Linked DNA regions of Homo sapiens: region 1 is linked to region 2. The links are contacts of gene promoters, found by promoter capture Hi-C in blood cells and fetal thymus (Javierre and others, 2016). All regions are on one chromosome and are shown on one strand. Each heading gives the region's core, a stretch centred on a gene start or on the middle of the fragment in contact. The rest is flanking DNA. Distances are from core to core; before and after follow the strand shown. Region 1 overlaps ENOPH1 (enolase-phosphatase 1). Region 2 holds the start of COPS4 (COP9 signalosome subunit 4).

The links. The method cuts DNA at HindIII sites, captures the fragments that hold promoters and counts their contacts. A CHiCAGO score of 5 or more calls a contact.
Region 1: a fragment that was not itself captured here is called in contact with the fragment with the promoter of COPS4 in region 2 in 1 of 17 cell types (fetal thymus); the score reaches 5.1 in fetal thymus.

The regions. Positions count from the first base shown.
Region 1 is chr4:82,436,668-82,442,730 of GRCh38, forward strand. All of the region lies in intron 1 of ENOPH1 (enolase-phosphatase 1), which reads left to right. Among named protein-coding and RNA genes, the nearest start is that of ENOPH1, 9.1 kb to the left of the region's middle. The HindIII fragment of the contact is 1,442 bases long and covers 2,751-4,192 here.
Region 2 is chr4:83,033,347-83,039,546 of GRCh38, forward strand. It overlaps COPS4 (COP9 signalosome subunit 4), which reads left to right and starts at 1,837. Exons shown (of 10, transcript NM_016129.3): 1 at 1,837-1,952. The coding sequence starts at 1,879. RefSeq lists enhancers at 1,357-1,476, 1,550-1,844, 1,607-1,956, 2,057-2,106, 2,147-2,206 and 2 more. The HindIII fragment of the contact is 6,632 bases long and covers 1-4,739 here.

The sequences.
Region 1 (6,063 bases), core at 2,222-4,721, 600 kb before region 2:
CAAAGCAAGACCCTGTCTCAAAAAAAAAAAAAAAAAATGGTGGATAGAAAGCACCTCTGGCCTCTGGGAGGAAGCTGTCCCACCTAGCTGGGAGGGACCTCACCTAGGATTCAGGAGACCTGGGCTGCCTACCACATGAGCCTTAGACAATCTGCTCACCCAGCCACCTGTTAGTTCCCTAAAGCTGGGACTGTCATGTTCATCCTGCTCTCACACAGAATATGTCATCGTCGTCATCATCATCATCATCATCCTATCGTTGTTGGAACCCAAAGAATCTGCATTAAGTAAATAATTCAGTATGGGCATGGTGGCTCACCCCTGTAATCCGAACACTTTGGGAGGCAAAGGTTGGAGGATCACTTGAGGCTAGGAGTTTCAGACCAGCCTGGGCAACATAGCAAGACCCTGTCTTAAAAAAAAATTATAAAAAAAGAAAGCACCTCTCACTTTGATTTCTGGTTCCTTATTTTTCTAGAACCTTCAGTATTGTGGCATTAGCATAATCTTTCCAGCCTAATCAATCCTTCTTTCCTTTCCCTCACATTTAATTGAATACCTGTCATGTTCCAGGATATGGTAGGGATCCAGAGTCCTTAAGACCCAGCTGTCACCCTCAGGTTCCTCAGGGAACCTAGAAAGGAAGACAGTTACATAAATAGGTCGCCTTTGCATAATCAAAGTCCTCTGTAGTCTCTCACTGGCTGTGAGATGAGAGTTCAACAAATTGGGTTTTCCAACTTTCTATCCCTCTCTTTACACTTTACATAGCTGAACATGCACATTCCAATCATGCCCTTTCTTGCTGCCACCATTCTTCCAGCTTGGAATGTCATACCTTTTCGTCTCCAAGTGTGGGTCCCATGCACTCATTAACTTAAAAAAAAATTACTTATTGTGCTAAGCTGTGGGAATATGGAAGTAAGAGCTACCTCTTCTTGTAAAGGACCTATTTAAGCAGGAATTTCAAAGTCCTTTCTCTTCGTCCTCTGAACTCATTGTCAGTACCATGTGTAGTATTTGCTACTGGAGCCAATAGCTGACTTGTGATGTTGGATGTGTGTCCTCTTTTTCAAGCTGTGTGGAAGGCTCCTCAAGGGCAGAGACCAGAGCCTCACACAGTGCTTACACATCAGGCATGCTGTAACATGCTGGGTGATGGTGATATGCATTCCGGAATGGGTGTGGGAGGGACTGGGATTCAGTTTCTTCCATACTCTGCAATCCTTGCTATTTCAGATTTCCTCAAGGTGGTACTCTATTATATTTGAACAATTTAACTGAAAGTGTTTCTAGAGTGGCATTAGAATTCATTGACTCAACATTTCCAAAACCTACAAGTTATAGAGGATGAAACCAGCTGATAATGGAAATTAAATGTCATAAAAGAGAAAATTTTATTAACAAAATTAAGATAAAAAGTGAAATATGTTATTTATAGAAACTTGCATCTGTTAATGTAAGACTAGAGGAAAGGTTTTTCTACCCCCCCAAATATTCTTCCTAGAAAATTAGTTCGCCCTGATTATAAAATTGCAGACAAAGAAGAGTATGATATAGAGAGTGAAAGCCCTGATATGCTCCTGCCATCCAGAGGTGACCATTAAGAGTTTGGTGAATATTCCTTCTGTTTTTTTCCCTAGGTACACAGTAAAGTCATACAGATCTTTGAAAGATATGTAGTCAGACTTATTGAGTAAAAGGGGTTGGGCATGGTGGCTCACACCTGTAATCCCAGCACTTTGGAAGGCCATGGCAAGGAGATTACTTGAGTCCAGGAGTTCAAGACCAGCCTGGGCAACATAGGGAGACCCCATCTCTACAAAAAATAAAAAATTGGCTGGACATGGTGATGTGCACCTGTAATCCCAGCTACTCAGGAGGCTGAGGTGGGAGGATCACTTGAGCCCAGGAGGTAGAGACTGTGGTGAGGTGTGATTGTGCCACTGCACTGCATGCAGCCTGGGTGACAGAGCTGGAATGCAGTGGCGTGATCGAAAAAATAACAATTTTTAAAAGGGGCACTGATTTTAAGCTATAACCCCTATATTTTAAATACATAGGCTGGATTTTATCTTGCTCATACAGACTTTTAAAATGATACCCTGTGTTTAGCCCTGAAAAGTGCTTACTTCTTCTTTGTCTGATGGGTCTTAAAATTTTCTATCCTTGCAGCTTACCCTGTGTTACCACTCCACTAAAGAAAACAAAGTATTCTTTTTTACAATAAAAGGTTATTTTTATATGAAACTTTGAATTTCACATTTATCAACTCATTTGATTTTCAAAACTGGTTTTGTTGGAGGTGCAGGTCAGAAGAGGAGTGGAAACCAACCTGCCCTAATCCTATTGCACCCATTTTCCCATCAGCTCACTAAAGAGTCGTGTGGAAAGTTGGTAGCTTTATCCTCAGAGGCCCTCCTGGATCCTCTCTGGACCTTTCCCAGGTGATACCATTTCAGGAAAATGGGTTTCTTTTCAAAGACAGAATGTCTTTAGGACAGAAAGGGGTTGTTTGCCTTCTAGGTATGTGCATGAGGGGTTCATTTCTTAGCTTGATTTTCTTTCCAGTGATTCATGATGTGACCTTCTAACAAGTTCCTTTTCTTAAGTCTAAAAAGTGTGGACCTGGTACCCCTTTACTGAGTAAAGAGAAACTAAGGCATGCGGTTTGGAAACTAATGGTAATTTCAGCATTGAGACCTTGGTGGGACTTTGGAGCTCACAATCAGACCAGTGTTTGACAGTTAAGCTTGTGTATACTTACTCCAGCTCTCTCTGGACTGGTCTTGTATGGGTCCAAGTCGTTGTAAGTTCAGGAAGGTAATTAGATCCCTTTGATGGGGGTAAAGAGTGGGATCTTTACCCCCGATCTGATACTGGGGAGATTCCAGGCATCTGACTCTATAAACTCAAAAAGAAAGACCTGATTGGTAAACTATAATCTCAGTTTGTTAATTTGTACTTAACCTTTATGTGCCTCTGAAAAATGGAGGAAGTAGTAGCACCAATTTCACAGGGTTATTATGAAGATTAAAATGACATTATCAGTAAGTTGAGTAAATTTTGAGTGCTTGGTGGTGGCAGTGGTGAGAAGTGATTGGATCTGAATATATTTTGAAGGTAGAGCTGATGGGATTTGCTGATGGATTGGTTGGATGTGGAGTTTGAGAGAAAGAGGAGTCAAAGATGACTCTAAGGTTTTTGGCCTGAGCATCTGGAAGGATGGTTCTGTCATTTACTGTGATGTGGAGATGTAGGGGGAGGAGGAGGATTAAGGGATGGAATCAAGAGTTTGGTTTCAGATGTGTTTAGTTTGAGATACTGAATAGACATGCAAGTGGGGATATTGGGTAGGCATTTGGAAAAGGTCCAAGCTAAAGGTAAGGATTTGGGGATCATTAGTATAAATGGTATTTAAAGTCATGGAATTAGGTAAGATCACAAAGGAGTGATTATAGATAGAAAAGAGAAGTGTTTGTCATAGTAAGTGCTCAGTAAATGTTGGCAGTTACTCCCATTACTATAACTACTTGAATTATTATTGCTGATACTTTATAGGAAATGTTACAGAACTACTGGGTGAACCATAATCTCTCATTTTCTTTGTATGAAACCTCTTTGGGGAATCAAAGCTATATTAGAAATTTCCATAGAGAATATGCTGTCAAGATCCAGGGAGTTAGATGATCCTGGTGAGTAGTGCTCCTTGAAGTCATTCACCCGTGAGAGCTGGATGGCTTCAGGTGTTGGGATTTGATAGGCCTGGGTTTGAGTCCTGGCTTTACTCTGCACCAGCAGCGAAACCTCTTTGAACCTCAGTGTCTTCCTCTATGAAAGAAGGCTTACTTTGCAGGGATGTTAGGCAGATTCAAGGAGATGAATGTGAATGCCTTCCTTTCCCCTCCACTGTTAAGGACTAGGACTCTGGGCCAGTCAAGTTCCCTTTCTGGAACTCATTGGAGATACTCTGTTTCTTTTGTGCTGCTTCTTAAAACCTTACTCCAATTACTAGCCCTCTTGTACTGATAACAATCCCTTGTTCAGTGTGATTCATTGCACTTAATTAGATAACAGTGTATCTTTTGTTAATTATAATTTAATCTCCTTAATGGGGCTATCTTTTGTCTTATCAGCACCACATTGATTAATTCATTTTGAATGCACATGTGAAATCTGATGTTCATTCCTAAGCTTTCAGTTTTCAACCTACACCCCTTGTATGGGTCCAGCCCTGTTTACTCCCATGAAGACGAGGACAGTAGGATTTTAATTCCTGAGACCATGTGGCCCCATGTGGCAGCCAGAACACAGAAACTTCTTGATAGCTCCTACTGTGGTCTTCAGGAAGCCTTTTTGAAGAGCAATTCTAATACCACAACTGCTGAAACTATCTGGCAGATGGCATGGACCACTCCAAAAAGTAGCAATTCTCGTTGTTAGAAGTATTTAAACAAAGCTTGGTGTATTAGTCTGTTCTCATGCTGCTAATAAAGACATACCTGAGACTGAGTAGTTGATAAAGGAAAGAGGTATAATGGACTTACAGTTCCACATGGCTGGGGAGGCCTCACAATCATGGTGGAAGAAGAAGGAAGAGCAAAGGGATATTTTATATGGTGGCAGGCAAGAGGGCATGTTCAAGGGAGCTCCCCTTTATAAAACCATCAGGTTGTCAGGTGTGGTGGCTCATGCCTGTAATCCCAGCTGTTTGGGAGGCCAAGGTGGGCAGATCACGAGGTCAGGAGATCGAGACCATCCTGTTTAACACGGTGAAACCCCGTTTCTGCTAAAAATACAAAAAATTGGCCGGGTGTGGTGGCAGGCGTGGTGGCGGGTGCCTGTAGTCCCAGCTACTCTGGAGGCTGAGGCAGGAGAATGACGTGAACCCGGGAGGCAGAGCTTGCAGTGAGCTGAGATGGCGCCACTGCACTCCAGCCTGGGCGACAGAGCGAGACTGCATCTCAAAATAAAATAAAATAAAGTAAAAACCATCAGATCTTGTGACAGTTATTTACTCCCAGCACTTTGAGAGGTTGAGATGGGAGGATCACTTAAGCCCAGGAGTTCACGACCCGCCTGGGCAACATAGTGAGACTGTCTCTACAAAAACAACAACAACAACAACAAAAATAAATTTAAAAAACCAAAAAAGCCTAATGTATTACATTTTCCTAATACTATTATCACAGACATCTGGCAGTAAACATCTGTGGGAAAACTACATGGGAAGGCTAACTTTAACAGAGAAAGATGCTAGGTGACAAGATCATCAAAGTAAGTGACTTTGAGCCAGGGAAGAAAAGTGGCTCAGCACAAATGTGGTCTTTCTTCAGACTGATCATAGTATAGCTGATTCACTACCTGTGCCGATAAAGCTCTATTCTCTTGAAGTCACAGTGTAGTCATTCTGATTGGAATTTGGATTTTGCTAAATTCTTCAGTCATTCTGCCTCAGATAACTAGCTCTTCTTGTCCATTGCATGTAATTTCCCCTAAGTTTATTCACTGGATACAGCCTTTAATTATTTGTCTTTGTAGGGGGTGATTTTATTTAAAACACTGTCAGCAGGCCAGCTTGGTGGTGGCTCCTGTAATCCCAGCACTTTGGGAGGCCAAGATGCGGGGGATCATCAGAGGTCAGGAGTTCGAGACCAGCCTGGCCAACATGGTGAAACCCCATCTCTACTAAAAATGCAAAAATCAGTTGGGCGTGGTGGCACACACCTGTAATCCCAGCTACTCAGGAGGCCGAGGCAGGAAAATTGCTTGAACTCAGGAGGTGGAGGTTGCAGTGAGCTGAGATCGCACCATTGTATTCCACCCTGGGTGACAGAGCGAGACTCTGTCTCAAAAAAACAAACAAAAAAAACACTGTCGGCAATCTATGATTTTTTTTTTAACACTTAGTTTTGCTAACTTTTAGCACTATTAAGGTTATACATTTTTATTGCAGAAAAGAGATATGCAAAAAAGTTTCTTTTAATGTCATAACCCAGAGAGAACCTTTGTAAACATTTAAGTTCATGTTCTCTCATATTTTGTTCAGTGTGTTAAATATCC
Region 2 (6,200 bases), core at 587-3,086:
CTGTGTAATATCCTCTAGCTCCAAAAAGAGTGATTTTGAAAGACTGGACAGCTGGTAAGATGTCCAGCTGTCTTAGTCTGTTTTCTGTTGCTTATACCAGAATACCTGAAACTGGGTAATTTATAAAGAAAAGGAATTTATATCTTAGAGTTATGAAGGCCAAGAAGTCTAAGGTCAAGGGGCCACATCTAATGAGACCCTTCTTGCTGGTGGGGACTTGCTAGAGTTCAGAAGCAGCACAGGGTATCACATGGCAAGGGAGTGACCTTCCTAACATGCTAGCTCAGGTCTCTTCCTCTTCTAATAAAGCCACATGTTCTCTCCCATGACAACCCATTAATCCATGAATAGATCAAGGGTTTTGCCCTCATGATCCAATCACCTATTTAAGGCCCACCTCTAAATACTGCCACATTAAAGATGAAGTTTCAACATGAGTTGTTTGTTTTTTTTTTTTTTTTTGAGACGGAATTTCCCTCTTGTTGCCCAGGCTGGAGTGCAGTGGTGCAATCTTGGCTCACCGTAACCTTCGCCTTCCAGCTTCAAGTGATTCTCGTGCCTCAGCCTCCCGAGTAGCTGAGATTACAGGCACGTGCCACCACACCCAGCTAATTTTTGTATTTTTAGTTGAGACGGGGTTTCTCCATGTTGGTCAGGCTGGTCTCGAACTCCCGACCTCAGGTGATCCGTCCACCTCGGCCTCCCAAAGTGCTGGGATTACAGACGTGAGCCACGGCGCCAGCCCTCAACATGAGTTTTGGAGAAGACAATTATTTCAAACCACAGTACCAGGAAAAGTGCAAAAAAAAAAAACCAAGGCAGAACAATTATGTGGTGTTGCTTGTGAGAGGTAAAATTTTATTTTATTAATATTTGCTTGTATTTGCAGAAATTCTATAAGAATACATGAGTATTGAATGTTATACAAACGCAGGCGACCATATAATCTTCCATTGAAATGGAACGGTTTCTAGAATGAAAGGGAGGATGTTATTATTATTATTATTATTTTTTGAGACCGAGTCTCGCTGTGTCTCCCAGGCTGGAGTGCAGTGGCGCGATCTCGGCTCACTGCAAACTCCGCCTCCCGGGTTCACGCCATTCTCCTGCCTCAGCCTCCCGAGTTGCTGGGACTACAGGGGTGCACCACCTACGCCCGGCTAATTTTTTTGTATTTTTAGTAGAGAACGGGGTTTCACCGTGTTAGCCAGGATGGCCTCGATCTCTTGACCTCGTGATCCGCCCGCCTCGGCTGCCCAAAGTGCTGGGATTACAGGCGTGAGCCACCGCGCCCGGCCGAAAGGGGGGATATTAATCATTACTCCAGGACGACAGAGGGAAAATCGCTTTGTACTGGACAAACTGGAATGTCTGACCAACCATTATAAAGTGCACGGAGTGGGAGGAGGAATAGGGACATTTTAATTGTATTTCTAAAAAGTATCTTCTGTGGTGAATCGGAAACAAAACTCATTCTTTACCACAGGCAGTTTAAGCGCTGCCTGAAAGATCGAAGGACGGTAAACCACAGACGTGAGAAACGGAACTTTGCGAAAACGCAGTCGTTTTATGTACCGGCTACTCATTGGAGTTACACCAGAGACTCACTACTGGAGTTCATCAGCCAATCCAAAGTCCAAGCGTGAGAGCCAGAGCCTGTAGGAGAGACCTGGGCAGGCCTCAGACCTGAGGAGTGGAGCTCCGCATCACTCAACCCTGGGGGCGGAGCTAGCCCAGGCTCCCACACCCGACGCTCTGGCCCACACAGACGCTACTCTGTAGCATCTCAGGTTCCCTCTGGCTGCACTCTGGAGGACCACACTCGTTTTCTTTTTGGCTGCCAGAGGCCCCCGCATCCACCGCTGAGCTGGGAGAAAGATGGCGGCAGCCGTGCGACAGGATTTGGCCCAGCTCATGAATTCGAGCGGCTCTCATAAAGATCTGGCTGGCAAGTGAGTATTTCCCAGGAACGCGGGAGTACAGAGGTGGGGAAAGAAAGCCACAGCCTTAATCTCCTTAGGTTGGCCACGGCTCTTGGGCGTGAAGCTAGGAGCCGGCCTGACGTCCAAGGGGGCGGGCCTGAGGTCGGCTGGGGAGGCAAATGTTGGGAGAAGCAGAAAGCTGGAGGGGACCTTGTGCAGGGGCCTTCGAGGCTATAGACTTGAAATGATTGTCAGCTTGTTCAGTTCTTGATAGAATCTTTCTGGTCCCTTAGGATTTTGGAACAGCGGTCTGAGAGACGACTGCTACCCTGGCCTTAGTAGCCTTCCCTGGTACCTCTTCCCATCGCTGGCCGGCCTCACACCGAATCTGGCCTCTCTTTGGACCTTCCTCCTCTTTTTTTTTGATTCAGAGAAATGTATATTCTGGGGCCTTGATGCTGCGTTTTTCGGGGAGATGGCTTCTTGGGGCTGGCTGAGGTTGAGGCGGTATGGCCGCTGTCATGTCGTCCAGACCATTCAGACTGTCTTCTGTGGGTCCTTGTGTTTCGGGTATTTTCTCTGCCACCAACTCTGATGGCACATAGGCGGAATGTGCTCATATCGTGGGTCAGGATGTCTACAGTAGTGATGTTTGCAGGAATCTGAATTTTGTCGAAATTTATATAGAATGCTTAGGTTCACTCCAAGTTAAAATGTGTGACGTGCCTGTTCTGCAAGCAGTTGTCAACAGTATTAAGCATAGGTAGGTAGACGTATATTGTTCATTTTCTCTTTGTAGATGTCACAGCATTTCTCTTTTGTAATGAACATGCTTTCTGTTTAAAGTATGCCTCTCTAGGCCGGGTGCAGTGGCTCACGCCTGTAATCCCAGCACTTTGAGAGGCTGAGATCACTTGAGGCCTGAGAGATCTGAGAGGGAGGATCACTTGAGGGCAGGAGTTCTAGACCAGCCTGGGCAACATAGTGAGACCCCCCCCCCCGCCGCCACCCGTCTCCGTAAATAAATAAGTAAATAAAGTATGCCTCTCAAGTTGATCTTAATGTTTACATCCTGACAGCTGAAATCACTTTGATGTATATTAATGGGATACACCTGTTCTAACCTGGTCATTGAAATTCTGACTGTTTTAAGTAGGCTAGGCTGCCTTTTCTCTGGTGGCAAACGTAATCTACTTTTATCAGTGGGAAATTCAGCCGTATATTTTGGGCTTAACTACTTTGTGCTGCATTTTCCCACTCAGGAAAATGAAGATAATAATAGGACTTATTCTTGTCTGACATTATCTGAGGACAAGATGAGTATGTGTGTGCATATATACTTACCACACTTATATCACGTAGAACAGTACCTGACATATAGAAAGTGCGGTAAGATTGTTGTTGTTACTATTAAGCTGTCAGTAAATATATATTCACTTATTGTATGGGTTGGAAATAAGTTAAATATGTCTTCATGGCTCAATCCTTTCTGCTTGTAATTTTTATATGGATGAAAGTAAAATCAGCTTATATTTTTCCCCATGCTTCCTTTACTTTTTATTTTGTTAAAGAAGAATAAGTGCATTAGTTATCAAAAGAAATAGAGCTTTGCAAGTATTTGCAGAATTCTGAAACTTAAGTATTTACTTCTTCAGGTCTGAATTGGAGATAAACAATAGTACTTAAAGCGTGCTTCAGTTATCTGTTGCTTTGTAACAAACCAAAAACTTAACCAGTGTAAAACAACTATGATTTCTCAGGATTCTATGGGTTGACTGGACTGCTTTGCTGGTCTTGTCTGGGCTCACTCATGCAGATATAGTCAGCTGGCAACACACCTGGGGCGGGACTCACATGCATATCTTGCTCTTGCCTGGATCTCTCTCTCTCTCTGCACAGTCTCTCATTCAGTAGTTTAGCTTGGGCTTTCTTAGGTGCCTATGAGAGGGGAAGTCGCAAGACCTCTTAAGGATAGCCTAGGAAGTCTCACGTCAGTTCTCTAGTACTGGTCAAAGTAAATCAGAAGACCAGCCCAGATTCAAGGGGAGGGGAAATGGAGCTTACTACTACCTCTTTAGTGGCAAAGTTACATTGCAAAGGAGCCTGGACAGAGGGAGACACGATTCATTGGAAGCCGTTACTGTAGCAGTCTACCACATGGTGTTATTGTGAAGATTAAATGAAATAATGTGCTTGATAACTGATAGCCAGTGCAGTCTTAGCCATAACTCCTTCAGAGCTGCTTTCTGAGAAAAGTCTTGGCCTTGCCTGCATTTCCTATGTGGGCAAGAATGTAGCAGGATATTTATCCTTACAACAACATCAGTTCTACCAGCTATATGCTTTAAGAGAAATACCCTTGAAATATATCAGTGTGTTTTTTTTTAATGTATTTTTTCTTGTATGTACTTTTAATGAAGGTTTTTGGGTGTTTTTTTTAGGAGCTGAGTAACAAAGGATTCCATATTAAAGAATAATGGAATACATTGTTTCTAAAACATCAATACTGTGTGTTCCTAGCAATTGGGATATCTGTAACAGTAGTTGTTCAATAAACGTGGTTGAATTAATGAATAGCTAGAAAGGGGCAGTGCTTGTATTTGAATCCAGGTTCATCTACTCTAAAAAGCTCATTTTAAACCTACCAGACTATGCTCGTTTTCTTGTTAAAAACTCAGTTAGAAATGCTTTCCCATAACTGTGAATTAACACAGCTGTCTAAAGTTTATATAAGAAATTAGCCAGAGGAAAAGCATTTCCTCCATTTTATAGGCTGCTTTTGTGCATATTATGCATTGTATTTATTATCTCACATAAAGCTTTAGAATAGGAGAGCCACAACGGAGGATAGACTTTATTGAGGATAGCCTCAAAGGCCCCTTCTAACTCAGATTCTGATTCTCTCTTTGTTGTCCCAAACACAACAGTTTTAGTGGTTTTCATCTCTAGAGTGAAAGTCAATAACATCTAGAGTTTACTGTGCGAAGCACAACATTACTTACATTTAAAAATCCTTAACAAGTAGGAGTAGGTGATAGTAGTGATATTATTTACATTATAATAAGAGAAAACCAAAGTACAGAGTTGAAATACCTTGCTCTGAGGTCACACAGCTAGTGGTGAAGCTAGAAGACAGTCCATATCTGCTTGCCTATGAGCCCTTAACTCTAAACAAACACATCTACCTTTTTGGCCTTATTTTCACAAAAAAAAATTGACTACACTTCAGATAGTGATTATTTTTGCCTAGAATGCCTGTCTTCCTACTGTTATTAAATTGAAATACTTAGAATGTTTAAAGATCAACCCCATCCAATGATTTCTCTCTCCTAAAAATTATATTAGCACTTACCTGTTTTTTTTGTTTGTTTGTTTGTTTTGTTTTGTTTTGAGATGGAGTTTCACTCTTGTTGCCTAGGCTGGAGTGCAGTGGCGCGATCTCGGCTCACTGCAACCTCTGCCTCCCGGGTTCAACCGATTCTTCTGCCTCAGCCTCCCAAGTAGCTGGGACTACAGGTGCATGCCACCACACCCGACTACTTTTTTTTGTATTTTTAGTAGAGACAGGGTTTCACCATGTTGGCCAGGATGGTCTCGATCTTTTGACCTTGTGATCCACCTGCCTTGGCCTCCCAAAGTGCTGGGATTACAGGCGTGAGCCACCGCGCCTGGCCAGCACTTACCTGTTTTTAAGATTTTGTCTTTAATTTTGTGTAGCTTCATTATGATATGTCTGTGGATTTGTTTTTACTTTTCTATGTCAGTTACCCTTTGCTGTGAAATAAACCCCAAAACTTAGGGCTTAAAACAACAGTCACTTATTTAGCTTATAATTCTGTAGGTTGGTAGTTTGGATTGGGCCCAGCTGTATGGTTCTTTTCTGCTCCACGTGGTCTTGGTTCCACATGGGCTCCCATGTGGGTCTATAGTTAGCTGCCAGCCAGGCCAGGTAGGCAGCTCTGCTTCTGTGGATTGGCTGGCTTGTTGGCTGGGGCAATATAGTTGACTGGGCTACATATCTCATTAGCCAGTATGTTAGTCTGAGCCTGTTCATGTGACAGCAGCAGGGTTCCAAAAGACAAACACATACAAGGCCTCTCGAGGTCTGGGCTCAGAACTAGCACTTCATTTCTACCACGTTTTATTGGTTAACCCCAGATTCAAGGGGTAGGGAAATAAACTCTACCTTTTGATATGAAGAGCTACAAAGTTGTATTGTAAAGGGACATGGGTACTGGGAGTGAAATTATATTGTGGCCGTTTTTTGTAAGCACTCTG